Regions from separate parts of the Homo sapiens genome. Here region 2 is linked to region 1. The links are contacts of gene promoters, found by promoter capture Hi-C in blood cells and fetal thymus (Javierre and others, 2016). All regions are on one chromosome and are shown on one strand. The core of a region is centred on a gene start or on the middle of the fragment in contact, and the rest is flanking DNA. Distances in the headings are between cores, read along the strand shown.

Region 1 (6,576 bases), core at 4,046-6,545:
ACAAATTGCTTATTTTAAAAAAATATTGTTTTAAGAATTAAATTTATCAAATGTACATTTAATAACAGAAGCATGTTTTTATCAAAAGAAAATTGACATTTTAATTGTCCTAAGATACTTATAAAAACATTAGTGTCAGAAACTGTGTGGCAGAAATCATCAGAATTGAGAGGAGATACATATGGAATTCTTTCTGTATCATCTGTTTCTCCAAATTTTCTTTATCCTTATTATAATCTTTATCTAAAGTTGGACAATCCATGTTGACCTAAATTAAGAACACTCAGAATTAAGATCAGGAATGAATTAAGAGATAAGAGCAAGGTTAGAACTGATGCTAAGAATGAGACAGGAATAAGAATAAAAAAATAGAGAAAACAGAAAAGTTTAGCCCAGATAATATACAGAAAAAAGGCATTTTAGACCTGGATACTTTTGCTGTACCTTTCAGTCACTTGATCACACAAAAAAATTACAGAATGAGCTTTAGGCATTAATTGCAAACCAAACCAACAAATCAAATCAAGTAACCATTTTCACTCTATTTTATAGTACCTAGAATGAACATAAATATCACACAATTTAAAAAATAATTTTACTACTAGATTATAGGCTACTCAAAGGCAAGGACTCTTCTTAGAATAACTCAGCATCCAGCACAATATTGGGCATACCAGTGTCAGTATACATTTATTTACTAGAAGATTTAGGTGAAAAGATCCCTACAGTTTGGTACTTCAAATCCTCAATGAATCAAAAAAGTTTTCTTAATGTCAACTTGAACCTAGTTGCCTTTAGCTTTGCAAATACTCAAGAAAATCAGTAATTTCACTTTCAGACTCAATATATTTTCCCTTTTATTTCAACAATCTTGAATTTAAAGACAATCATAGTCTTAATTATGAACTCTGCCATTTACAAAAGTAATTTTAAATTCATTCAATTTTCAGAGAACTAAATTATGACTTTATGTACCCAACTTTACATATACATGGGTCCTATGTATGTTTGTATACTATTTATACATGTTATTACATATTTCTTCATGAATAATTACATAATTTATTGATTTTCAACCATAATCCAGGTGCTGTATAAGGTATCTAAATGCATTACTTCATTTCATTATAAAAAGTATACTGTGCAAAGCTGTATAAATGAAGATACATACCATCTTCAAATAAACAACATTGTATAAAAGTATCCCTGCAAAAAGTGAACTGACTGTCCAACCAAAATAAAAGCGCATATTTAAAAAAATGCTATCTCTGAAAATGTTAAAACTAAATGATTTGAGAATGACTCACCTAAAAATAAACAATATAAGTATTTGTCATTCTGAGAACATGACAAGCTTTCAAACAGACCTTGAAACTGCTAAAGATTTATATGCTTTAAAAGTACTCAGTTTAAGAGGGTAACATTTTAAAGCTACTAATTTCACTATATTTTTTTCTTTTATACAAGTTACCACTTGCGTACTGTTGTCATTTCTTTATATGAGCTATTATTTCTAGCCCACTTAGGTAAAGAGTCCAATAATTTATTCACAACTATCTTTTTATCACTATTTAGACTGGCCCACCCAAACACATTTTATTATGCTTCTTTCATGTGAAACCCACAATTAATGAAGATCTATTGTTAACTTATAGAGTAAGTACTATTATGGCATAAATGCTATTTAACTAATTAACTGTAAGTAAAATGAATTTCTATGACATGCTAAAAATGGAATGTAGAGCTAGTAGCAACAGAGTTGTTTTGACTGTGCTAGGTGTAATTTTGGATATTTTATAGCTGCTAAGAAAAACTTCATTTTCTGTCTCTTCCACCTGGGTGACAGTAATTCTTCAAACCATGTTTTGGGCCAGTGCCATCTATTGTTTATGGTCAACATATAGTAACTATTCAAGCGCAGGTTAAGGAAAAATGGCATACTTCCTTCAGAGAAGACACTAAGCAAAAATGTTCTCTGGATTTAAATGTTAAATAAGAAAAAGAGAACAAAAAGTAAAGAAGTTCAGAACAGTTTCACGTATTGAGCCTTTGCTTCTTAGTAATTATAATATTAGAGTTACTGGATTGCTTTGTGTCAAATGATTGACTTGAACATATTTCTATTTCACTCAAACAATAAAAGAACAGAAATGAAAAAAAGAAACGAAACACTCAAAAAAAAATTTTTTTTAAGAGACAGGGTCTTAAACTCCTGGCCTCAAGCAATCTTCCTGCCTCAGCCTTCCTCCCAAAATGCTGAGATTACAGGAATGAGTCACCATGCCTGTCCAAGAAAAGAAAAAAAAGCTTTGGAGATGGTTCTATTACAGTAACAACCTTAACGTAACCTTACAATTATAGCACTCTATAGTTTACAAAGAATTTTTATCTAGTTTAATTCTCATAATGATCCAATGAAGACAGCAAGAGCAACACAATAATTCTAGTTCATGGCTGAATGAACTGAAGTGGTGGGAGTTTAAATAACTTGCACTGGGTCACACAGCATAGGAGGTTGAATGAGGACTAAATTTGAATTCAGTGCTCTCCACTTTTGTAAGTGTTTCTTGATAATCTTATAAGGAAATGAGTATTAATAGTTTCAATGGGGAAATGTTACAGACAGGAAGTACCAATCACAAAACAATCATAGAAGTATAAACTTTTTTCACTGCCTTATTCTATTATTTTAGCAACTTGAAAAATGATGTCGTATGTTGTTAAGCACAACATTACAGATAAACACAATGCCCTAGTCAAAAATTACTCTAAAAAATTAAAACAAGATATATACTTAAGAAAATATCTTGTATTTTATATTATATTCCTTTTTTCAAAATATGTATTTCAAAAGTAGAAAAGGCAAAACAGTAATCTTTGCTGCCTTATTTTTGGAAAAAAGAATTATAATAGACAATACTTTTCATTTAAAGAAACTACAAAAACTTAGTGGCACATTCTTCACTGTTTTAAAACAAACTGTAAAACTAGTGATATTTACCTGAGGAGCAATACGATTAACAATATGTGAAATCTCATCACTATCTGTGGTGTAAATCTGTTTTTTTCTTCCTTTACCTAAAGAAACAAAGACATTTCTATAAATTTTAAACAAAAAACCCTCCATTTTAAAAAACAGCTGTCACTTCTTAGAAAGTAATTTTATTTAGTGCAGCTTAGAGGATTATGTGTTTACATCACATACTTATACAGATAAAATCATATAACATTCTCAGAGGTTCCCGATGCTATTATCTGACTAGAATTCTAGTTAAATCTGAATCATTTATCAAATATTTACTCACATAAAAAATGTTAATAATTAATTACCTAACTGCTTTGTCAATGGAGAATTCTGATCCCAAAAGATATCATTCTGTCCATCTGGATCATTAGGAGAACTGAAGGAAGATGACAGTGAGTCCATTTTCAGCGCTCTCTTTGGTGTTTCATACCTTTCTATATAAAATATGAGTAAAATAACAATTGTTGCATTTTAAAGCATTACCTTACTTCGTAAGACCCCAAGGTCAAATAGCTGAGACTAACTTTTATAGTCCAAGATAATTTTTTTTCCCAGAGATAATTACCTGAACCGTAACAGAAATGCTTGTTTCACATAAAAATCCACGCGGCACTTCGCAAACTTCACATTGTAAATAGCAAACACTTCTAGATAATCCAGAAGCTTTATGAATGCATAATACAATACTGTATAACCTAAGTCATTCTATTTATTACCATTGAGTCTTGGAGGCTTTGGGGAACCATCTGTAATTTATAGGTACATTCAAAAATCCAAAGTAACCCAACAGAAACCTAAATATGTTTAGCCCCCTTTCACCAACTCTATCTAATCTACATTAATTGCCATTCTTCAAAAACCATTAGTGATCCAATGCTTGGGAATTTTTGTCTAGAATCACTTTCAAATTTTTATAAAGATTTTTGTTCATTCCCAAATTGCTTTATAGGAGTATTATTAAAGACATGTAAGGTGGCCGGGCGCGGTGGCTGTAATCCCAGCACTTTGGGAGGCCGAGGCGGGTGGATCACGAGGTCAGGAAATCGAGACCATCCTGGCTAACACGGTGAAACCCCTGTCTCTACCAAAAATACAAAAAATTAGCCGGGCGAGGTGGCACACGCCTGTAGTCCCAGCTACTTGGGAGGCTGAGGCAGGAGAATCGCTTGAACCCGGGAGGCGGAGGTTGCAGTGAGCCGAGATTGTGCTACTGCACTGCAGCCTGGGCGACAGGGCGAGATTCTTTCCCAAAAGAAAAAAGACACGTAAGGTATAAAAAAAAAAAAAAAAAAAAAAGCACTATTTCAAGAACATGCTCCAGAATAAAGGCTTTTGTATGAGTTTCAGTTCCAACTAAGATTTACTAGAAGTCTTTTAAAAAGTAACACCTAAAACTAATCGAGACGAAAGAGATCCTTAGTATCTTATTTGGAGGGATGTTACACACAGGAACTTCCGGTTTATTCACAATGAGGTGAGACATCTACCAGGCTTTGAGACAAACTTTAACTTTTCCTATGAACTCTTCTCTAAAGCAGGTCACAGGGAAAAAAAGGGTTTAAAGAGAAATAACTTCTCCGGGCAAAAACTGAGGTTAGCGGGCCTATCAGCTGTTTCTTCTCACTCCACCACTGCTGCTGACTGGAGGAGCAGCCTGGAAAGCAGCCGCCCTCCCGCAAACAGGTAAACCACATTACCTATTCCTGTGGCGGAGGCAAATGGATGGTCAAACCTAACGGGGTAGTGCTGAAGTTCGGGGACAAAAGCCCATCGGGGAGTGGTATAGGATTATTTTTGGACTCTCGAGGGGTGAATCCCAGAGACAGAATACACGCTCCAGACTCCACCCCCACCCCAGATTTCCCTGTTGCAAGCTGGGATGTGGGGATGCGGCGCCGAAGCCAAGGCAGGCCGCGCTGCCGACGTCTCACCCTCGGGGTTACTTTTACTGCACAGGGCGGCGGTCGGAGGCTGCTCTCGCTGCCGCACTGGCCCGGGAGGCCCCTCTCTAGCCCCGCAGGGCCACGAACCGCGGGCCGATCTCAGCCGCCTCCTCCCTGGCTCGACCACCGAGCCGCATTCCTCCGCCGCCACTGTTTTGTGCGGCGTTTTCTTCGGGCTAGGGCTGTCATCATGTTTCCTTCGCCGACTCATTGCCTATGGCCCGCCTCCACCAGCCGCTTCTTCTTTCACATTTTGCAAAGGGATGAGTAGGGCAACAGCACTACAAACCGCACCCCGCACCAACGGCAGCCGCCATTTTGGTCGGTGGGGCGCGCGCAAGAGGCGGCCGCTGATTGGCTGGGTCCGGGAGAGGGGCGGAACTGTTAAGGTGCCGAGGGCGCGCGCACTTCCGCAGCCGGGACAGGAGCCTGCTCTGGAGGAGTGTCTAGGCTCAAAATCCTCCAGACTGGTGGGGGTTGTTCGGGTAGTAGTCAGGTCCGCGTAAACTGAGAGTGGGAGCTTGTGAGTTGGAAAGATTGAATACACTAGCAACTTTTTATTGAATTTACAACGAAAATTGCACGTTAGTCAAATTCAGATTATTGAGAGTCTTCGAATTTCTCAAGAAGAGGAAATACAGTTAATTTTTCATAGATGCTATGTGCATAGAAAAATCCAAAAGAAAGTAGAAAAAATTACTAAATTAATTTAAGAGTTGCTGGATACAAAGTCAATATTCAAAGATCAATGTGTTTCAATAGATTAGCAACAGATATAAAATTGAAGTTTTAAAGAGATACTATTTATAATAGTGCATGAGATAGCAAGTAACTAGGAATAAGTTAAAGATTGTCCTTCCTACAAAGAGAACTATAAAACATTTTTGAGGCCGGGCGCCATGGCTCAAGCCTGTAATCTCAGCACTTTGGGAGGCCGAGGCAGGCGGATCACGAGGTCAGGAGTTCAAGACCAGCCTGACCAGCATGGTGAAACCCCGTCTCTACTAAAAATACAAAAAATTAGCCGGGCATGGTGGTGCGTGCCTGTAGTCCCGGCTACTGGGGAGGCCAAGGCAGGAGAATTGCTTGAACCTGGGAGGCGGAGGTTGCAATGAGCCGAGATTGCGCCACTGCACTTGCAGTGAGCAGAGATCGCGCATCTGCATTCCAGCCTGGGCGACAGAGGGGGACTTCGTGTAAAATAAGTAAATACATACATACATACATACATACAAAAATTAGCCAGGCGTGGTGGCGGGTGCCTGTAATCCCAGCTACTTGGGAGCTGAGGCAGAGAATTGCTTGAACCTGGGAGGTGGAGGTTGCAGTGAGCCGAGATTGCGCCACTGCACTCCAGCCTGGGCAACAGAGCAAGACTCCGTCTCAAAAAAAAAAAAAATTTTTTTTTTGAAAGAAAACGAAGACCTAAATAAATGGTTACACTATGTTCATGGGTTGTGAGACTCAATATTGTTACAATGTCAGCTATTTCCAAACTGACCTATAGATTCAACATAAATACATATGAAGGCCCAGTGTGTGACTGTGTGTGTGTAACATGGTAAGTTTTTTCTAAAATTTATATGAAAATGCAAGGGACCAAAAATA
Region 2 (6,705 bases), core at 2,137-4,636, 6.0 Mb before region 1:
CCAAAAAACATGAAAAAATGCTCAACATCACTAAGCATCAGAGAAATGCAAATTAAAATCACAATGAGATACCATCTCACACCAGTCAGAATGGCTATTATTAAAAAGTCAAAAAACAGATGTTGGCAAGGATGAGAAGAAAAGGGAACACGTATACACTGTTGTTGGGAATGTAAATTGTTCAACTCCTATGGAAAGCAGTATGGAGATTTCTTGAAGAACTCAAAACAGAACTACCATTTGACCCAGCAATCCTACTACTGGGTATCTCTCCAAAGGAAATTAAATCATTTCATCAAAAAGACATCTGAGCCAGGCACACTGGCTCACACCTGTAATCCCAGCACTTTGGGAAGCCAAGGCGGAGTATCACTTGAGCCCAGGTGTTCTACACCAGCTAGACGCCATTAAAAAAAAAGAAAAAAATCTGTGCTCATATGTTTATCACAGCACCGTTCACAATAGCAAAGTCATGAAATCAACCTAAGTGTCCATCAACAACTGAATGGGTAAAGAAAATGTAGTATGTATTAATATACATTGTGGAATATTATGCAGCTATAAACAGAATGAAATCCTGTCCTTTGCAGCAACATGGATGGAGCCTGGAGGCTATTTATCAAGTGAAACAATTCAGAAACAGAAAATCAAATACCACATGCTCTCACTGGTAAGACAAGTGGGTACAATGGGTACACAGAGGCATAAAGATAAATGGGTACAATAAGTACCCACAGACATAAAGATGGAAATAAACAGACACTGGGGGCTCCAGAAGGAGGAGAGAAGGGCTGAAAAATTACCTATCAAGTACAATGTTACACTATCACGTACAAAGGTATATTATTTGGGTGAGAGGTTCACTAGAAGCCCAAACCTCACCATTATGCAATATATCCATGTTAATTACGTGCATATGTACCCCCAAATCTAAAATTAAATTAAAATTTTGTTTAAAAAACTCCTCCTCTAGGCTTCAAGATAAAGTTTGAATATTAATAGTTATTCAAGCAAGAAGTCACAGGACAAAATAAAAGTTAGAAGACCTAGTCAACAAGTGTGGCTTTAATTATGGTCTCTATGTAAATGACTTACAACTTGAAATCTCTAGCCCAGCCTTCTCCTTCAATCTTCAAAACCAAACTCATAATCTTAAGACTCACCCAACCAATTCCACCACCCACTCACAGCCACCACCTCCACCATAAATCTGGCCATATCTTAATATTGGCACAACCATTCAAACAATAACCTAACACCTGGCTACTTCACCTTTCACATCCCATCCGTTATTAAGTATGATGATTTTGCCTCTTAAATATCTCTCAAATCAGTCCACTTTTCCCTGTATCCACCAACACTTCCCTATTCCAAACTTTCATCATCTTTTGCCGGGCAATGCTGCAATGGTCTCCTAATTTATGCCCTTGACCTATGGCTACTGCTCCCCATCCCACCTTGCTATCACAGCTGTTCCACACTCTGCTATACACCTGACCTTTCTGAAACACCTAACTTATCATACATCCCCTCGTTTCAAATATTTTCTTCAACTCCCCAAAGCTCCAGAGATAAAGCCCCTAAATCCTTGGCATAGCACACAAAGCCTTGCAGTCTGTGCTCAAACCACGTTGGCTTCTGGGTCCTGGAAAATGCCATGCTCTCTCTCATCAACAGTACCTTTTCATGTGTTTTTCCCTCAGCTAGACGGCTCTTTCCCTCCCCTTTGCCTGATTAACCTTAAACTGTCTTCAGATATCAGCTCTATCATAACCTCCTCAAGAAGGCTTTCCCAACTTCACTGACAAGGCCAGATTATCTTACTTTATGCTTTCATAGAATATTAGCACATATATTAGTTTCACTTTATGTGATCATCTGAAATCTGTCTGCCTCCCTGTCTAGACCATGAACACAAGGAAGGCAGAGACCAAAAATGTTTGGGTTCACCAAGCTTTCCTTAGCACCCAGCACAATGTGTGGCACATGGTGAATTCTAATAATACATGTTCAATGAATTAAGTACCCCCTGGAATATTCACCAGACAAAACAACAACTACTGCTCATTAGTGACAAAACTCTACACCTTCACTGTCTGTGATGATGGAACTGTTCCATTATCTGCTCTGTCCAACATGGTAGCCACTAGCCTAGTGTGGCTGCTGAGCACTTGAAAACCGGTAAGAACAGACGCATGGAATTTTTCATTTAATTTATTTTTAACTCTTACTCAAAACTATAATAGTTTTCTCTTTAAGATGTAAAAAGCCACACGTGGCCAGTGGCTACTGTACTGAGCAGGGCAGGTCTTGCTCCTCGAAAAGCAGTAAGTTAAAAAAAGGGGGGTAAGGGCAGCAAATTAAATGGAGAGTTATTTTCAAAATGATCTTCGGGGGTCTACCATGAAATCGGCTTTCTCCATTGTGTATTATCTGTGCTTTGTAGTTTTGCAGACTGTTTGGAGCCGCATCACAAGCCTCCTGCATTCCAAGCCCCTCCTATCGGCTGGGGAACCCCTTTATTGCTACAAATGATGGTCCAGGGGAGGAAAACCCGCGGGGAGCCTCTCCAGACTAAGTGATCGCGCGGTGTACATTATCCACATTACTCCCTCAGGGGAGTCCTGCAATTCAGTCAAGCTCATCTGTTCACTGTCTCCCCAACAAGATGCTCCCCAGGCAACCACTCGCTCCGGTCCTACACCGCCTTTTCCCTCCTTCAAGGCTCGACACACCCGTGGTCCTCTCTCAGCGTTTCTCACGGGGAATGCAGGCTCCCCTGAACGTCTACGGGAGTTCAAAAGGCCCAGGACCCACCGAGGGGGAGGAAACGAGAAGTCTTTGCCACAAAGCCTGGGAGACGCGGAGCAGCCGGCCGGCACCTGGGCTGGAGTCTGGGCCGCCTACTAGCCTCAGCTGCGCGCGTTTTCTCCGTCAGGCGGCGTGACCTGCGGGCGGGCGGAGCGCTCGGGGCCCAGCCTCCACCCCCAACTCGCCGCGGCTCCACACCCCTCCCCGGCCCGCCTCACCTTCTCCAGGGAGGTCCGCTCGCCCTCCGAGTAGCGGTGCTGCGGGGGCGACAGCGGAGGCAAAATCCTGCCGGGGTGCGCCTGCAGCCAGGCCTTGGCCTCCTCGTCCTCCTCGTCGTCTATACTTTCCAGATGCTGGGGCCCGTAGTGAGAGTCGGAGTCCAACTCCCGCCCCGCCTCTTCCTCCACCTCCTCCACGACCACTACGTCGTCCACGTTCGCCGCCGCCGCCGCTGCAGCCTCCTCCTCTTCCTCCTCCTCCTCCTCCTCCTCCTCCTCCTCCTCCTCCAGCTCGCCCGGCCATGGCAGATCCTCGGGCTCCATGTTGGTGTCTCGCTCTGGGCGGCAGAGGAGGAGGAGGAGGGGGGGAGGGAGGGGAAGGGGAGAGCCCTGACTGGCGGTTGTGGCCCAGCTTAGGCGCAGTGCCGCCCGCCTGGGCGGGGCCGGAAGACCGCGCGCGCGTTGCTAGGGACGCCGCGCGAGGCCCGGCGGGAACGCCTTAGGGCGGAGGTTTGCTACAGGCGACGTTGCCGCCTCGCCGCCGTCACCGGCCGGGACCTTGCGAACTGTACTGTAAGCTCACAATAAACCGGGACTGGGCGCCTTCCGGGGCGCAGAGGGCCCCGCGCAAGGACAGTGTAGTTCTCGGCTGGGGTCGAGTTTCGCCCCTGCACAGAGAAGAGATCAAACTCTAGGACGTACCCGTTATAATCACACATGCAAATTATAAAGTTTTAAAGGTTGAGTATCTCCTAAAGTGTCAAGCTGTATGGTGGGCGCTTGAACCTAACCGTGGAAAAGTGTCACGGGTTGTTAGAGGGATTAAGAACTGGGCACTGGCATCAGAAAGATCGGAGTTTGAATCCTGGCATCACCACTTAAAGTGGTGTGACTTTGTGTTTATAAAACGATGATAATAGGCCATCGCATAGGATGGGTGTGATAATTAAAGGAAATAATCAATGTGAAGGACTTAGTGATAGGTTGGTTATTGTACAATAACTCATTAGATGCTCACGGTTCTGTGAGACAAGTATTACTATTTCATGTATGAAGAATCTGAGGCTAAAAAAATTAATTTGCCCAAAGTTTCTTACCTAGTAAGTGGCTGACTCAGTATGCCATCCCAGGTCCTCTGTTAGTGTAGGAATTGCCCTGGCCTAGACCAACCAGCTGTTAAAGGATAACAGAGCAAATATTTATACTGATAGTACATATGTTTTGGTGGTTCGTCAATGACTTTGGAGTGCTTTAAAAACAAAGATTTCCTGACCGCTTCAGGAACCTCTACGAAATGAATGGCAAATTAAAGTATCTTAAGATGCCATGTAACCAGACACCACCTGTACCCCCAATAACCTATGGGGAAAATTTTTAAATTAAAATTTTAAATAATAATTATAATCTTGAGATGCTTCACTGTTACCAAAGGAAATAGCCATAATTAAAGTGGAGTCCAGCAAAAAGTCTTCATGGTATTACCCACAATAGTAGAGATACATTGATAATGATGCTGAACCAATGTTGGTGGGGCAATTTTAGGGTTATTGCCAAGGATGTATGTCCTGCCTACCTGTCAATGACCCAATCCTGGCAAAACTTTAAGGGTAGAACATGAACTGGAGCCCAGTCTTGGAGTTCTGTTGAACACCTCTAAATGGACTATGAGTACATTAGGGTTATTTATTCTTAAGGGGTTTAGGGGTTCTCCTTGCCGGAGACCTATTACTGTAATAGTAGAAAAGAATTTATTAATTTTGTATTCCTGAATGTGAAATCTCAATGTTTATCTCCAGTAAGAGGACACACATTTCACTGATATTAAATAACTGTAAAGCTTTACCTTTTTAGAAACTCCGCTATCTTTTTGCATCCACAAATTTCAGGAAAGATAAAGAGAACTAATAGAATTCTAAAAAATAGCTTTCAAAGTTCTCTAACTTCCATCTAACTTCCAAAGCCCAAAGTACTTCTATTTGCCTTGATGGCAATAAGGTCAGTCCATTCTAAGGCCCATAAGTTATCTCCTTCTGAGTTAATAACAGGCTTCCTCATGTATTTGTGAATTACTTCCAATACTAGATGCTACTAATATAAGCTGTTATCACTAATTGCTGCAGGAGACTTCTAAGATTAACTCCTGCTTTATCAACAACAGATGGAAGCTGCATTCTCAAAGCACCCACCTAAGCAGCTTCTGAAGTTAGAGATTTGGTCTTCTGAAAAAGCATTAGAAAACAATTTCCCTTGAGCCTCAATGCAAGAAAAAAAAATGTCAGGTACTATCAACAACTGACCCAGGAGTAAAACTAGAAGACATTGATCCCTGGATTCATATTACACAACTAAAAAGACATGCATCATTTTCTCCTGGCTACCGGACATCCCATACTATTGGAAGACCTCAAACTGAAGATTCCTGGGACTTCCCCAGAAGCTGCTTACTGCAGAAATGGGCAGTTTATACCCAAGACAACAGGACAAGATTAATTTCTGATTCCTTGGCATCTCTTACCCTACCACTAATCTTGCTTATTGCATTTTGACACCCTTGATTAACTAACAAATTGATTTCTCGGGGAGATAACCCTTATCTTCATCCTGTTACTTTTGACTCCCTATGTTCTACTACTTAAAGTAAACATTATTTGGCCAGGTGCAGTGGGTCATACCTGTAATTCCAGCACTTTAGAAAGCCAAGGTGGGAAGATCACTTGAGACCAGGAGTCTAACTAACGTAGGCAATGTAGCAAGACCCCCATCTCTAAAAACAATAAAAAATTAGCTGGGCATGGTGGCACGTATCTGGAGTCCCAGCTACTCAGGAGGCTGAGGCAAGAGGGTCCTTGAAGCTCAGGAGTCCAAGACTGCAGTGAGCTGTGATCGTGCCAATGGGCAACAAAGTGAAACCCAATCTAAAAAAGAAAGAGAGAAAGGGAGAAGAGAGAAAGAGAAAGGAAAGGAAAGGAGGGGAAAGGGGAAAGGGAAAGAGAAAGGAAAGGGAAGGAAAAAAAGAAAAGAAAAGAGACACTTTCTGGAGTGTTTTTCTCAAACCGTAGCTACTGCTTTTAAGGAATTGTTGACAAAATTTAATAACTGTGCTTTCATAGACTTCATCAAGTAGATTTTCTTCTGTAGGTCACTTCTGGTACTTAAGCATTCCCCACAAAGTTCATCCCAAACCTCAGTCTTCTAAAAATTGGACCTTGACCTACACTTCAACAGAATGTTTCCCTGAAGTCATTACAATCCTATGAGAAAAACCTAGCCCTTCAGGAATAGAAACTAATATTGGGGCTATTCTTTATACACTACTCAGGTCATTCTCTTCCAAAACATTCCAGCCTGCTTTGGAGAAACCTGTTTAACTTCATCCAAGAAATCTGCTTATCCTGAGGGAAAGAAAGTTGGCTTGTCCCTGATGTGCTAAATAGCCCTTATCCTCCCAATGCAGTCTGTACTCCCCTAGGGTACTACTTATTTATGGGAACATCTGGCTTGCCCACTAACTTACCCTTTATATTGAAGCTAATTGTTAGAGACCCTCCAGTGCTTAAAATTACCACCCCTCCAGTAGACTGTGTTTCTTTGAAAAGAACACCCAGAAACCAACAAAATGAAGCAAGCACACAATCACAGACTACTTGGGAGAACTCCCAGGAGGGATAACTGACTC

What was found. The method cuts DNA at HindIII sites, captures the fragments that hold promoters and counts their contacts. A CHiCAGO score of 5 or more calls a contact.
Region 2: a contact is called between the fragment with the promoter of ALMS1 here and the fragment with the promoter of ETAA1 in region 1, in 2 of 17 cell types (non-activated CD4 T cells and activated CD4 T cells). The highest score is 6.8, in non-activated CD4 T cells.

The regions. Positions count from the first base shown.
Region 1 is chr2:67,396,052-67,402,627 of GRCh38, reverse strand. ETAA1 (ETAA1 activator of ATR kinase) reads right to left here and starts at 5,295. Exons shown (of 6, transcript NM_019002.4): 1 at 4,957-5,295; 2 at 3,331-3,459; 3 at 3,002-3,078. The coding sequence starts at 5,179. The HindIII fragment of the contact is 4,361 bases long and covers 3,691-6,576 here.
Region 2 is chr2:73,382,517-73,389,221 of GRCh38, reverse strand. It overlaps ALMS1 (ALMS1 centrosome and basal body associated protein), which reads right to left and starts at 3,386. Exons shown (of 23, transcript NM_001378454.1): 1 at 3,030-3,386. The coding sequence starts at 3,353. It overlaps LOC105374804 (a long non-coding RNA gene), which reads left to right and starts at 3,541. Exons shown (of 4, transcript XR_007087053.1): 1 at 3,541-3,769. RefSeq lists enhancers at 2,598-2,837, 2,878-3,627 and silencers at 2,898-3,067, 3,228-3,627. The HindIII fragment of the contact is 2,912 bases long and covers 1,957-4,868 here.